3 separate regions of the Homo sapiens genome follow, and regions 2 and 3 are each linked to region 1. The links are contacts of gene promoters, found by promoter capture Hi-C in blood cells and fetal thymus (Javierre and others, 2016). All regions are on one chromosome and are shown on one strand. The core of a region is centred on a gene start or on the middle of the fragment in contact, and the rest is flanking DNA. Distances in the headings are between cores, read along the strand shown.

The links. The method cuts DNA at HindIII sites, captures the fragments that hold promoters and counts their contacts. A CHiCAGO score of 5 or more calls a contact.
Region 2: a contact is called between a fragment that was not itself captured here and the fragment with the promoter of SLC60A1 in region 1, in 2 of 17 cell types (endothelial precursors and M0 macrophages). The highest score is 5.2, in endothelial precursors.
Region 3: a fragment that was not itself captured here is called in contact with the fragment with the promoter of SLC60A1 in region 1 in 1 of 17 cell types (M1 macrophages); the score reaches 5.1 in M1 macrophages.

Annotation. Positions count from the first base shown.
Region 1 is chr1:205,567,687-205,570,410 of GRCh38, reverse strand. It overlaps SLC60A1 (solute carrier family 60 member 1), which reads right to left and starts at 1,397. Exons shown (of 10, transcript NM_181644.5): 1 at 1,112-1,397. The coding sequence starts at 1,341. It overlaps SLC60A1-AS1 (SLC60A1 antisense RNA 1), which reads left to right and starts at 1,106. Exons shown (of 4, transcript NR_152721.1): 1 at 1,106-1,282. RefSeq lists enhancers at 18-566, 567-1,116. The HindIII fragment of the contact is 4,650 bases long and covers 1-2,724 here.
Region 2 is chr1:205,361,451-205,364,174 of GRCh38, reverse strand. No RefSeq gene overlaps it. Among named protein-coding and RNA genes, the nearest start is that of KLHDC8A, 5.9 kb to the right of the region's middle. The HindIII fragment of the contact is 960 bases long and covers 842-1,801 here.
Region 3 is chr1:205,388,445-205,391,168 of GRCh38, reverse strand. All of the region lies in intron 4 of LEMD1 (LEM domain containing 1), which reads left to right. Among named protein-coding and RNA genes, the nearest start is that of LEMD1-AS1, 17 kb to the right of the region's middle. The HindIII fragment of the contact is 306 bases long and covers 1,248-1,553 here.

The DNA.
Region 1 (2,724 bases), core at 148-2,647:
CTCTGGGATAGCCCAACTGCGGTTTTTTCTCCAGGCCGGCTGCTTGCTCGACTGAGTCCATGGGATCTAGGAAACCACTCAGCCAGGAGCTGGGACTGGGGAAATCAAGCAGCAGCCTCTGGCTTGCAAGTCATCTATTCCCTATTCTATTATGGGTCTCTGTTTTCCATGCTGCACTGGGAGAGTGAATCTGGCTGTCTTTCCACAAGGGAGCCCGGAGGTGGCCCTGTCCAATTTAAGCCGAGAGAATAAGGCTCTGCAATAGTGTCAAAGGGGGATTTCTGGGGGTGGTGCCAGGGAGAGTCCAGAGCCCTGTCGTGGGGCAGAGGCCCAGCAGGAGTAGGATGAGGTGGGTGGGGAGTGGAGGGGAACCTTGGCACCAGGGCTGGAGAGTCACCTTACCAAGCTATGGGTAAAGTGCCCTGCCCCTCCCAACCTGGCCTTAACGGTGAGGTCCTGTGTGTCTCGGGGGCCCATGCAGGAACCATGTTCTGGCTGCCTCAGGAGGAGGGCTACACAGAACCCACTAAACCCCGTGGCTACCCGGGGGAAGGGACAGCCTGTGTTAGCTGATGTGGAGCTGCCTACAGTGGAGCCTGGCCCTGGGAATCAGTCAAGCCGCAGGCCACCTCCAGCACCCTGCACCGCCACAGAGCTGGCCCTCCCACGGTCCTTCCACCTCACTGCCAATCCCGCCCCCGGCAGCCGGGGCTACTGACAAACCCCAGAGGAGCTGTGTAAGAGGGGCACCCTCCCCACCTCTGCAAACTCTATCACTCCTCTCCCCACGGGGCGGTGGGTGGGGGAAGCAGGTGGGAACTGGTTTTATCCTCTCACAGGGATGAGTGATGACAAATAAATAAGCCAGAAGTCACCTTCAGTCTCTGGAGAGAGTTTTCCAGGGAGAGCTGCGGGGGAGGGAGGGAGGGAGGGAGGCAGCTCTTCGGCCAAGATGGAGCTGGGAGGGGTGGTCGCGGCCGGGAGGCGGGGGCGACGGGCAGCCCCACGGGGCCGGGGGAGAGGCCGGGTCGCGGGGCGGGAGGGAAGGGTCGGCCCGGCGAGGGTGGGTGCCGGGGGCCGCGGGGCGGGGGCGCACGGGCGCGGCACTCACGTCCTTTTGAAGACGCCCCCGAGGGCGCTGCCCAGCAGGAGGCAGAGCTGCTGCGAGAAGAAGACCCAGGAGATCTGGGGCAGCGAGCTGTGCGTCTGACAGCGCAGGTCCAGCAGCGTGGGCCCCAGGAAGGCGATGCACAGGCCGAAGCTGAAGAAGACGCTCCAGTAGGTGAGCGTGGGCTGCAGGTTGCGGCGGAGCAGCCCCGACACGCGGCCGTCGCAGCCCATGGCGCAGGCTGACGGGCTCGCGGATCTGGTCCCGGCGAGCCCGGTGCCCGAGTGCCGCCCGCGGGAGGGCCGGCCGGGCTGGGGAGGCCCGCGGCGGGGAGGGAGGGGCGGGGAGGGGCCGCCCCAGCGAGGGGCCCCGCCCTTGGGCCCGGGCGGCGGCGGGGGCGCCTCTGCGGCGGGTGGGCAGTGCGTCCGCTCCCGCGCCTTCCCCGTGCGGTGCCAGGCGCCGGCCTCCCCCTCCTACCCGAGCGCACATGCTCGCCCTCCCCCGGCTGCGGAGACCAACCGGGAGCCGCGCTGCCCCCCGCCCGCTCTCCCTCGACCAGTCCCCCCAGCCTCCGGATGCAGCCCCCAGGGACCGAGCGCCCATTTTAGAGCCCGGCAGATGGAGAGCCCGAGACATCCTGTATCTCCGGATAAGGCTAGGGGCCCTCTCCCCGCACCCGGGCTGTGGCAGTGGAGGAAACCCGGACCCCTTTAAACCTAGGCGCTTCACAGATGGACTTCGAGGGTCTAACGGCACCCCCCTTTCCCCCAGAACAGAAGGCAAAATCTTGTTGTACATATGTTTCTCCTTGGGAGAGTATTCGTGCATGGCTTTCATTAGAACCCCAAGAGGTTAATCACATTGCCCTTTAGAAGGAGAACCCTAGAAACTCAACATCTTCCTCACACTAAGCTCCCTGGAAGGGCCTGAGATGAGGCCCTCCTCCCCACCTGGCCAGGTGCGGGAAGGAGGAGGATGACGCTGGTCTATGCTGACTCTCTCTCTCTCCTTCTAACTAGTTGGAGGAGGGCAGAGAGGGAAGGGCCGCGTCCTGGAGGAACCCCGGGAGGAATTCTGAAATAATCTCCTAGAAAAAAAAATTTAAAAAGAGTTCTGGGGAAAATTCTTTCTTCCATGGATAAATCCCTGGCAGTGAGTAGGGGTTGATTATTCTCTAGACTGGGTGTCCTTCGAGGAGCCTGCAGCTGACCTAGGCTGTCCCTTCATTAGGTGGCCTCGGGCTGGCTGGTGGGTTCTGTGTGTTCCCGCTCCTAAGGGAGCCAGGATCTGGCCCCTGGAGGCAGAACAGTAAGGCCCTGCGGTGTCCCCTCTGCCCAGGTCTTCTGGTAATGACAGGAGCCATGACATCATTTCCACTGGCCCACCAGGGGGACCAGGGCTGAAAAGACTGAGGAGGTATGTGGGCGGGTGTCCCCAAGACAACTTGGCATGAGGTGGGGCAACCAATTTCTCTTGCAGGTACTGGTCCCATCTCATAGCCGCACCCCTGCATCTGCCCTATCCCTTCTTGGACAGTGAGCCCCAGAGAAGGGGGAGCCCCAGGGTCCCTCTGGCTCATCACTCTGTGGGTAATGACAAGTACTTATTCGATAGTG
Region 2 (2,724 bases), core at 72-2,571, 210 kb after region 1:
GCAGGTGGTACTTTCTTATCGAGATTCGGGCTCCTTTGGTTGTTTATCTTCTCTTTACTTGTAAGCCTTTCTTCATTTAAGTTGGACAAGAGGATTAATAAAAGAAATTTAAACTGTGAAAGTTGCTACTTAAGATTTTTTTTACATTATTTTCCAATCAAACTAGTTAACAAATCTTTTCATATGTACACAGGCAGCTGTGCTTTCACAGTATAACTTGTTTGTGTAAATACAAGCATTTAATTTTTACAGTTCACATTTAGATGATGGAAAATAAACATGTGGAAGCTATGAAAATTATGACAGAACTTTTTCTTACTGCTCTGTTCCTGGTTATACCATCTTTTAGTCAATCACATATCTACCTAAGATATCTTCATAGAATTCCACTCAAAGGATGTGAAGATAATATAAATACCCCCTACTGAGTTTGGCTATCAAAGCCAGAATTGGTTTAACTCTGAGTGTCGTCTAGTTTTGGTTTTTAATTCTGAGGATTGTGTTTTGACAACTGAGAACTCTATTTTTTGGCTTTGAAATGATATGTGGGATTGCACAGCTGTTACTTCCCTAAATGTATACCTAGTCCCATGACGTTTTCAGGGAATACCCTTGTATAACTTAAGGTGCTAGAATTAAGGATGGTCTGTGGTCACACACTAAAGTTGCTAATCATCCAACCTTACTAGTATAAGTCACATTAATTAAAAGCTTATTATAGGCTGGGTGCGCTGGCTCACGCCTGTAATCTCAGCACTTTGGGAGGCTAAGGCGGGAGGATCACTGGAGCCCAGGAGATTGAGACCAGCCTAGGCAACATAAAAAAAATAATAATAAAGCTTATATGCCTGGAATTGTGCTAAGTATTTTACACACATTATTTCATTTAATCCTCTCAACAGTCCTGTGAAATAGGTACTATAATAATCCGATTTTACAGATGAAGAAACTGAGACTCAGAAAGTTGATTTATTCAGGGTCAAGCAGAGAACTAGGATATGAACCCATATCTATCTGATGCTCAAGGCTTTGCTCTTTAAAAAGAAACACAGCTTTGTCGAGAAATAATTCACACACCACACAATTCAGCCATTTAAAATGTACAATTCAATGGCTTTTGCCAAATGGATTTGTGCAACCCTCACCACAATCAATTTTAGAACATTTTATCAGCCCTAAAAGAAATCCTGTCAACTGATGAATAGATAAATAAAACATGGAATATTCATACAATGAAATATTGTTAGGCAAAAAAGAAAGTACTGATACATGCTACAACGTATCTATTTTTTCCTTTTGTTGCTTGCGCTTTCCTGTCATATCTAAGAAAACATTGCCTACTCCAAGGTCATTAAGATTTATGCTTATGTTTTCTCCGGAGAGTTGTATAGTTTTAGCTCTTACATTTAGGTCTTTGAAGCTCTTTCTCGAAACCACTATGCTTTACTGTTTTGTGTGTGCATAAAGACACAAATACAGTCATAACCCATGGATGAGAGAGAAGCATGAAACGCCTGAGTAATTGGCATTTGGGGTTATCTCTGGATTTTAATGATCTGTTTTTCTCCTGCTCCAACTATGCTTGTAATTAAGAGTCAAATCACTTGATCATGTCCTGAATATATTCTAAAATCTCGCTTTGCAAAAACATCTTACATTCCCATTTCCATGACCCTAATTTAGGTCCTCATCTTCTCACCAGTAGGCTATTTTGATAATCTTCTAAGTAGGCCAAGTTCTTCTCTGATGAAATGCACCTCCCTTTATTGAAATCAATTGCTTGTTAATTTATTCATAAGCTTCACTAAGAGAGGAACTATACATTTCTTTTTCACCATCATGCCCCTGGTGTTTAGCATTGTGTCTGGCACATAGTGGGTGCCCCACAAATAATCACAAAGGAAGACTATGTGATCTCCTTATCATGAAACTCTTCTCCTGGACTAAACACTGTTTATGCTGCTGCCAGATTAATATTCCAAACACTGCTCTGATCACTTCACTTCTTGGCTCAAAAACTTTCAAGGTCTCTCTACTGCCTTCTGAGAAGCGCCGCTCTTTTTTTTTTTTTTTTTTTAAGAGACATGGTCTCACTCTATCTCCCAGGTTAGAATGCAATGATGTGTGATCATAGCTCACTGCAGCCTTGAACTCCTGGGCTCAAGTGATCCTCTTGCCTCAGCCTCCTGAGCAGCTAGGACTACACGCACATTTAACTGTCCCTGGCTAATTTTTTTTGATAGAGATTGGGGGTGGGAGGTGTTGCAGGTGTCTCACTATGGTGCCCAGGCTTGTCTAAAACTCCTGGCTTCAAGCATTTTCCTGCCTCAGTCTCCCAAGAGCTGGGATTACAGGTGTCAACCACTGTGCCTAGTCCTCTGACATGACATCCAAGCAAGGGCTGCCATTCCCAGTTCCTTTCAGAACTCACAAGGCAACTTTGGAGTTGGGCAGGCTGCAGGAAACTCCAAGTATGAGAGTGGTCATTTGCTCTTGTCATGAGGTTGCCAGATTCAGGAAATAAAAATGTTGGGCCGGGCGTGGTGGCTCATGCTTGTAATCCCAGCACTTTGGAAGGCTGAGGTGGGAGGTTCAATCGAGTCCAGGAGTTCAAGACCAGCCTGGGCAACAAAGTGAGATCCCAACTCTACCAAAAACAAAGAGAAATTTCTAGGAATAATAGACGGGGTAAAAAATAGACAGTGGGTAAAAGATACTCACTTA
Region 3 (2,724 bases), core at 151-2,650, 180 kb after region 1:
CCATTTTTTTTTCTTCTGAGCTGCAATGTTAGTTCTTGTCATATATCAAGTTTCCATATATACATCGGTATTTTTAATGGATTATTTATTTACTTTAAAATTTTAGATTCAGGGGGTACTTGCGCAGGTTTGTTACACAGGTATTACACAGGTATATTGTGCGGTGCTGAGAATTGGGCTTCTAATGATCGCATCGCCCAGGTAGTAAACATAAACATGTGTTTTCAGCCCTTGCCTTCCTCGCTGCCCCTTTTGGAATCCCCTGCTTATTGTTCCCATCTTTGTGTTCCTGTGTATTTAAATGGGAATTTTAATTTCTTTACATTTATTGAAATTTCCTTTAATGTCCTTCAGTAAGATTGCATAATTTTCTTAGTAAAGGATATGCTCATCTTTTGTTAGCTTTATTAGTAGGTAGGCTTTTAATTTTTGCTCCATTGGGAATAGGACCTCTTTTAAAGCATATTTTAAATTGTTACTGGTGTATAGAAATGAAGTTGACTTCTGTATATTGATTTTACAACAATAAACTCTTTGCAATTGTAATACTTTTTCTGCAGATTATTTTGTAGCCTGGTTTGTATAGCTTTAATTTCTTTTTGTTTTACTGTGCTGGCTAAGACTTTTTATTATACTAGTGAAGTAGAGCGATGACAGTGGACATTCTTTCCTTGGTCCTGATTTTAAAGGAAATACTTCTAATATTTTACCTTTGAGTATGACTTATGGTGTAGGTTTTTGAACATGTCTTTTATCAAGTTAAGGAAGTTCCTATTCCTGGTTTACTAAAAGTTTGTTGTTTTTTTTTTTTTTAGAGAGAGAGTGTAGCTCTGTCGCCCAGGCTGGAGTGCAGTGGCGTAATCTCGGCTCACTGCAACCTCCACCTCCCAGGTTCAAGCGATTCTCCTGCCCCAGCCTCCCAAGTAGCTGAGATTACAGATGCACACCACCATGCCCGGCTAATTTTTGTATTTTTAGTAGAGGTGGAGTTTCACCATGTTGGCCAGGCTGGTCTCGAACTCCTGGCCTCAAGTGATCCACCTGACTCGTCCTCCCAAAGTGCTGCAATTACAGGCGTGAGCCACCTCCCCTGGTTGCTAGAAGATTTTTTAAAAACCAGGAATGGAGATGATCATAAGGTTTTTAACCTTGCTTTTGTTAATGTGGTGCAGATAATTTTTAAAGCCTTTTAGTTAATTCAAAATCATTACTTGGGTTAAGAGAACACAACGTTTTAAATAAAAGCTTTATCATATCAGGATTCAGGCAAAAACAATGAAGTAAAAGTCTGCTAAGATTATAGATCTTTTACCAACTTAATAATTTTTAGTCAATAAAGGGATTTGGAGTTAACTCAGTTTTAAAGGTCTGTAAATCAAAAGGAAGTTTTTCTTTTTTCTGCCTGTAATCAGGTCATAACTTCCAGTTTGCTATGTCATTTGTAAAAGTGTCCAATTCTACATATAGGCCTTTAAGAAGTAATTGCATTATTGAATTAGAGCAATTGGAGAATGTATTATGTTTCAGTTTGGAGAGAATGCCATCCCTAAGCTTCAGGGACATCCCTGCCTTCTGACTTCTCCAAGTCCAGCGGTAAGGAGTCTTGGGAGAATAAGAGAAAGAAAGGGTAGGAAACTGGGCTCTCAGCACCCTTTTCTTGACTACCCTTAATTGCAGGTGTCAGCCTGTGAAATTTTGGCCAACTTCAAGCCTACACGGTAAATATATGTCTTGTGGAAATGCAAACAAACTTGTATTTCTTTATGGACAGTTAGTGATGGCTCTAGTCAAGGTAGATTATTTTTAAAAAACCAAATGTAGGCTGGGCACAGTGGCTCACGCCTGTAATCCCAGCACTTTGGGAGGCTGAGGTGGGTGGATCACTTAAGGTCAGGAGTTCAAGACCAGCCTGGCCAACATAGTGACTCCCCATCTCTACTAAAAATACAAAAATTAGCCAGGCATGGTGGCATGCACCTGTAGTCTCAGCTACTCGGGAGGCTGAGGCAGGAGAATTGCTTGAACCCGGGAAGCGGAGGTTGCAGTGAGCCGAGATTGTGGCACTGCACTCCAGCCTGGGCGACAGAGCAAGACTCTATCTCAAAAAAAAAAAAAAAAAAAAAAAAAAAAAGAAAGCAAATGTACTTTTTGGTGATTTTAATGAGAATACAAAATGATTATTGTTCTTTCTGGCTCTGGATGTTAGCCCAGTGTTTTGTAGTTAACTGTAATGTGATACAGTATGACATAAAATGTCATATGCAATATTATTTCAGACTGACTGTGATATACCTAAGTAGGCCAGAATTAGCACAAAATAGTCCACCTGGAAAAAAACACCCTTATGAAAATGTCAATTCATCCGAGAAATTAAGAATGGAACTATTGACTAAAAATGTTACTTCCGTAGGAAATTAATGATTTTGATAATTTATTAATTAATGAAAAGTTTTTAAAAACATGTTTTGACATATTTTCAATGATGAGTTCTTCTATAATAATAGAAATGTATTTTTACAGCATTGGAGCCAGAATATCTGGGTTTAAATTATAGCTATGCCTTTTATGAATTGTGTTGTCTAGGGCAAATAACTCAGCTCCCTAAGCCTCTACTTCCTCCTCTGTAAAACGGTGACTGTAATAATTACCTCCTAGAGTTGTTAGAAAGATTAAGTGAATTGGCCAGGCATGGTGGCTCACACTTGTAATCCCTGCACTTTGGGA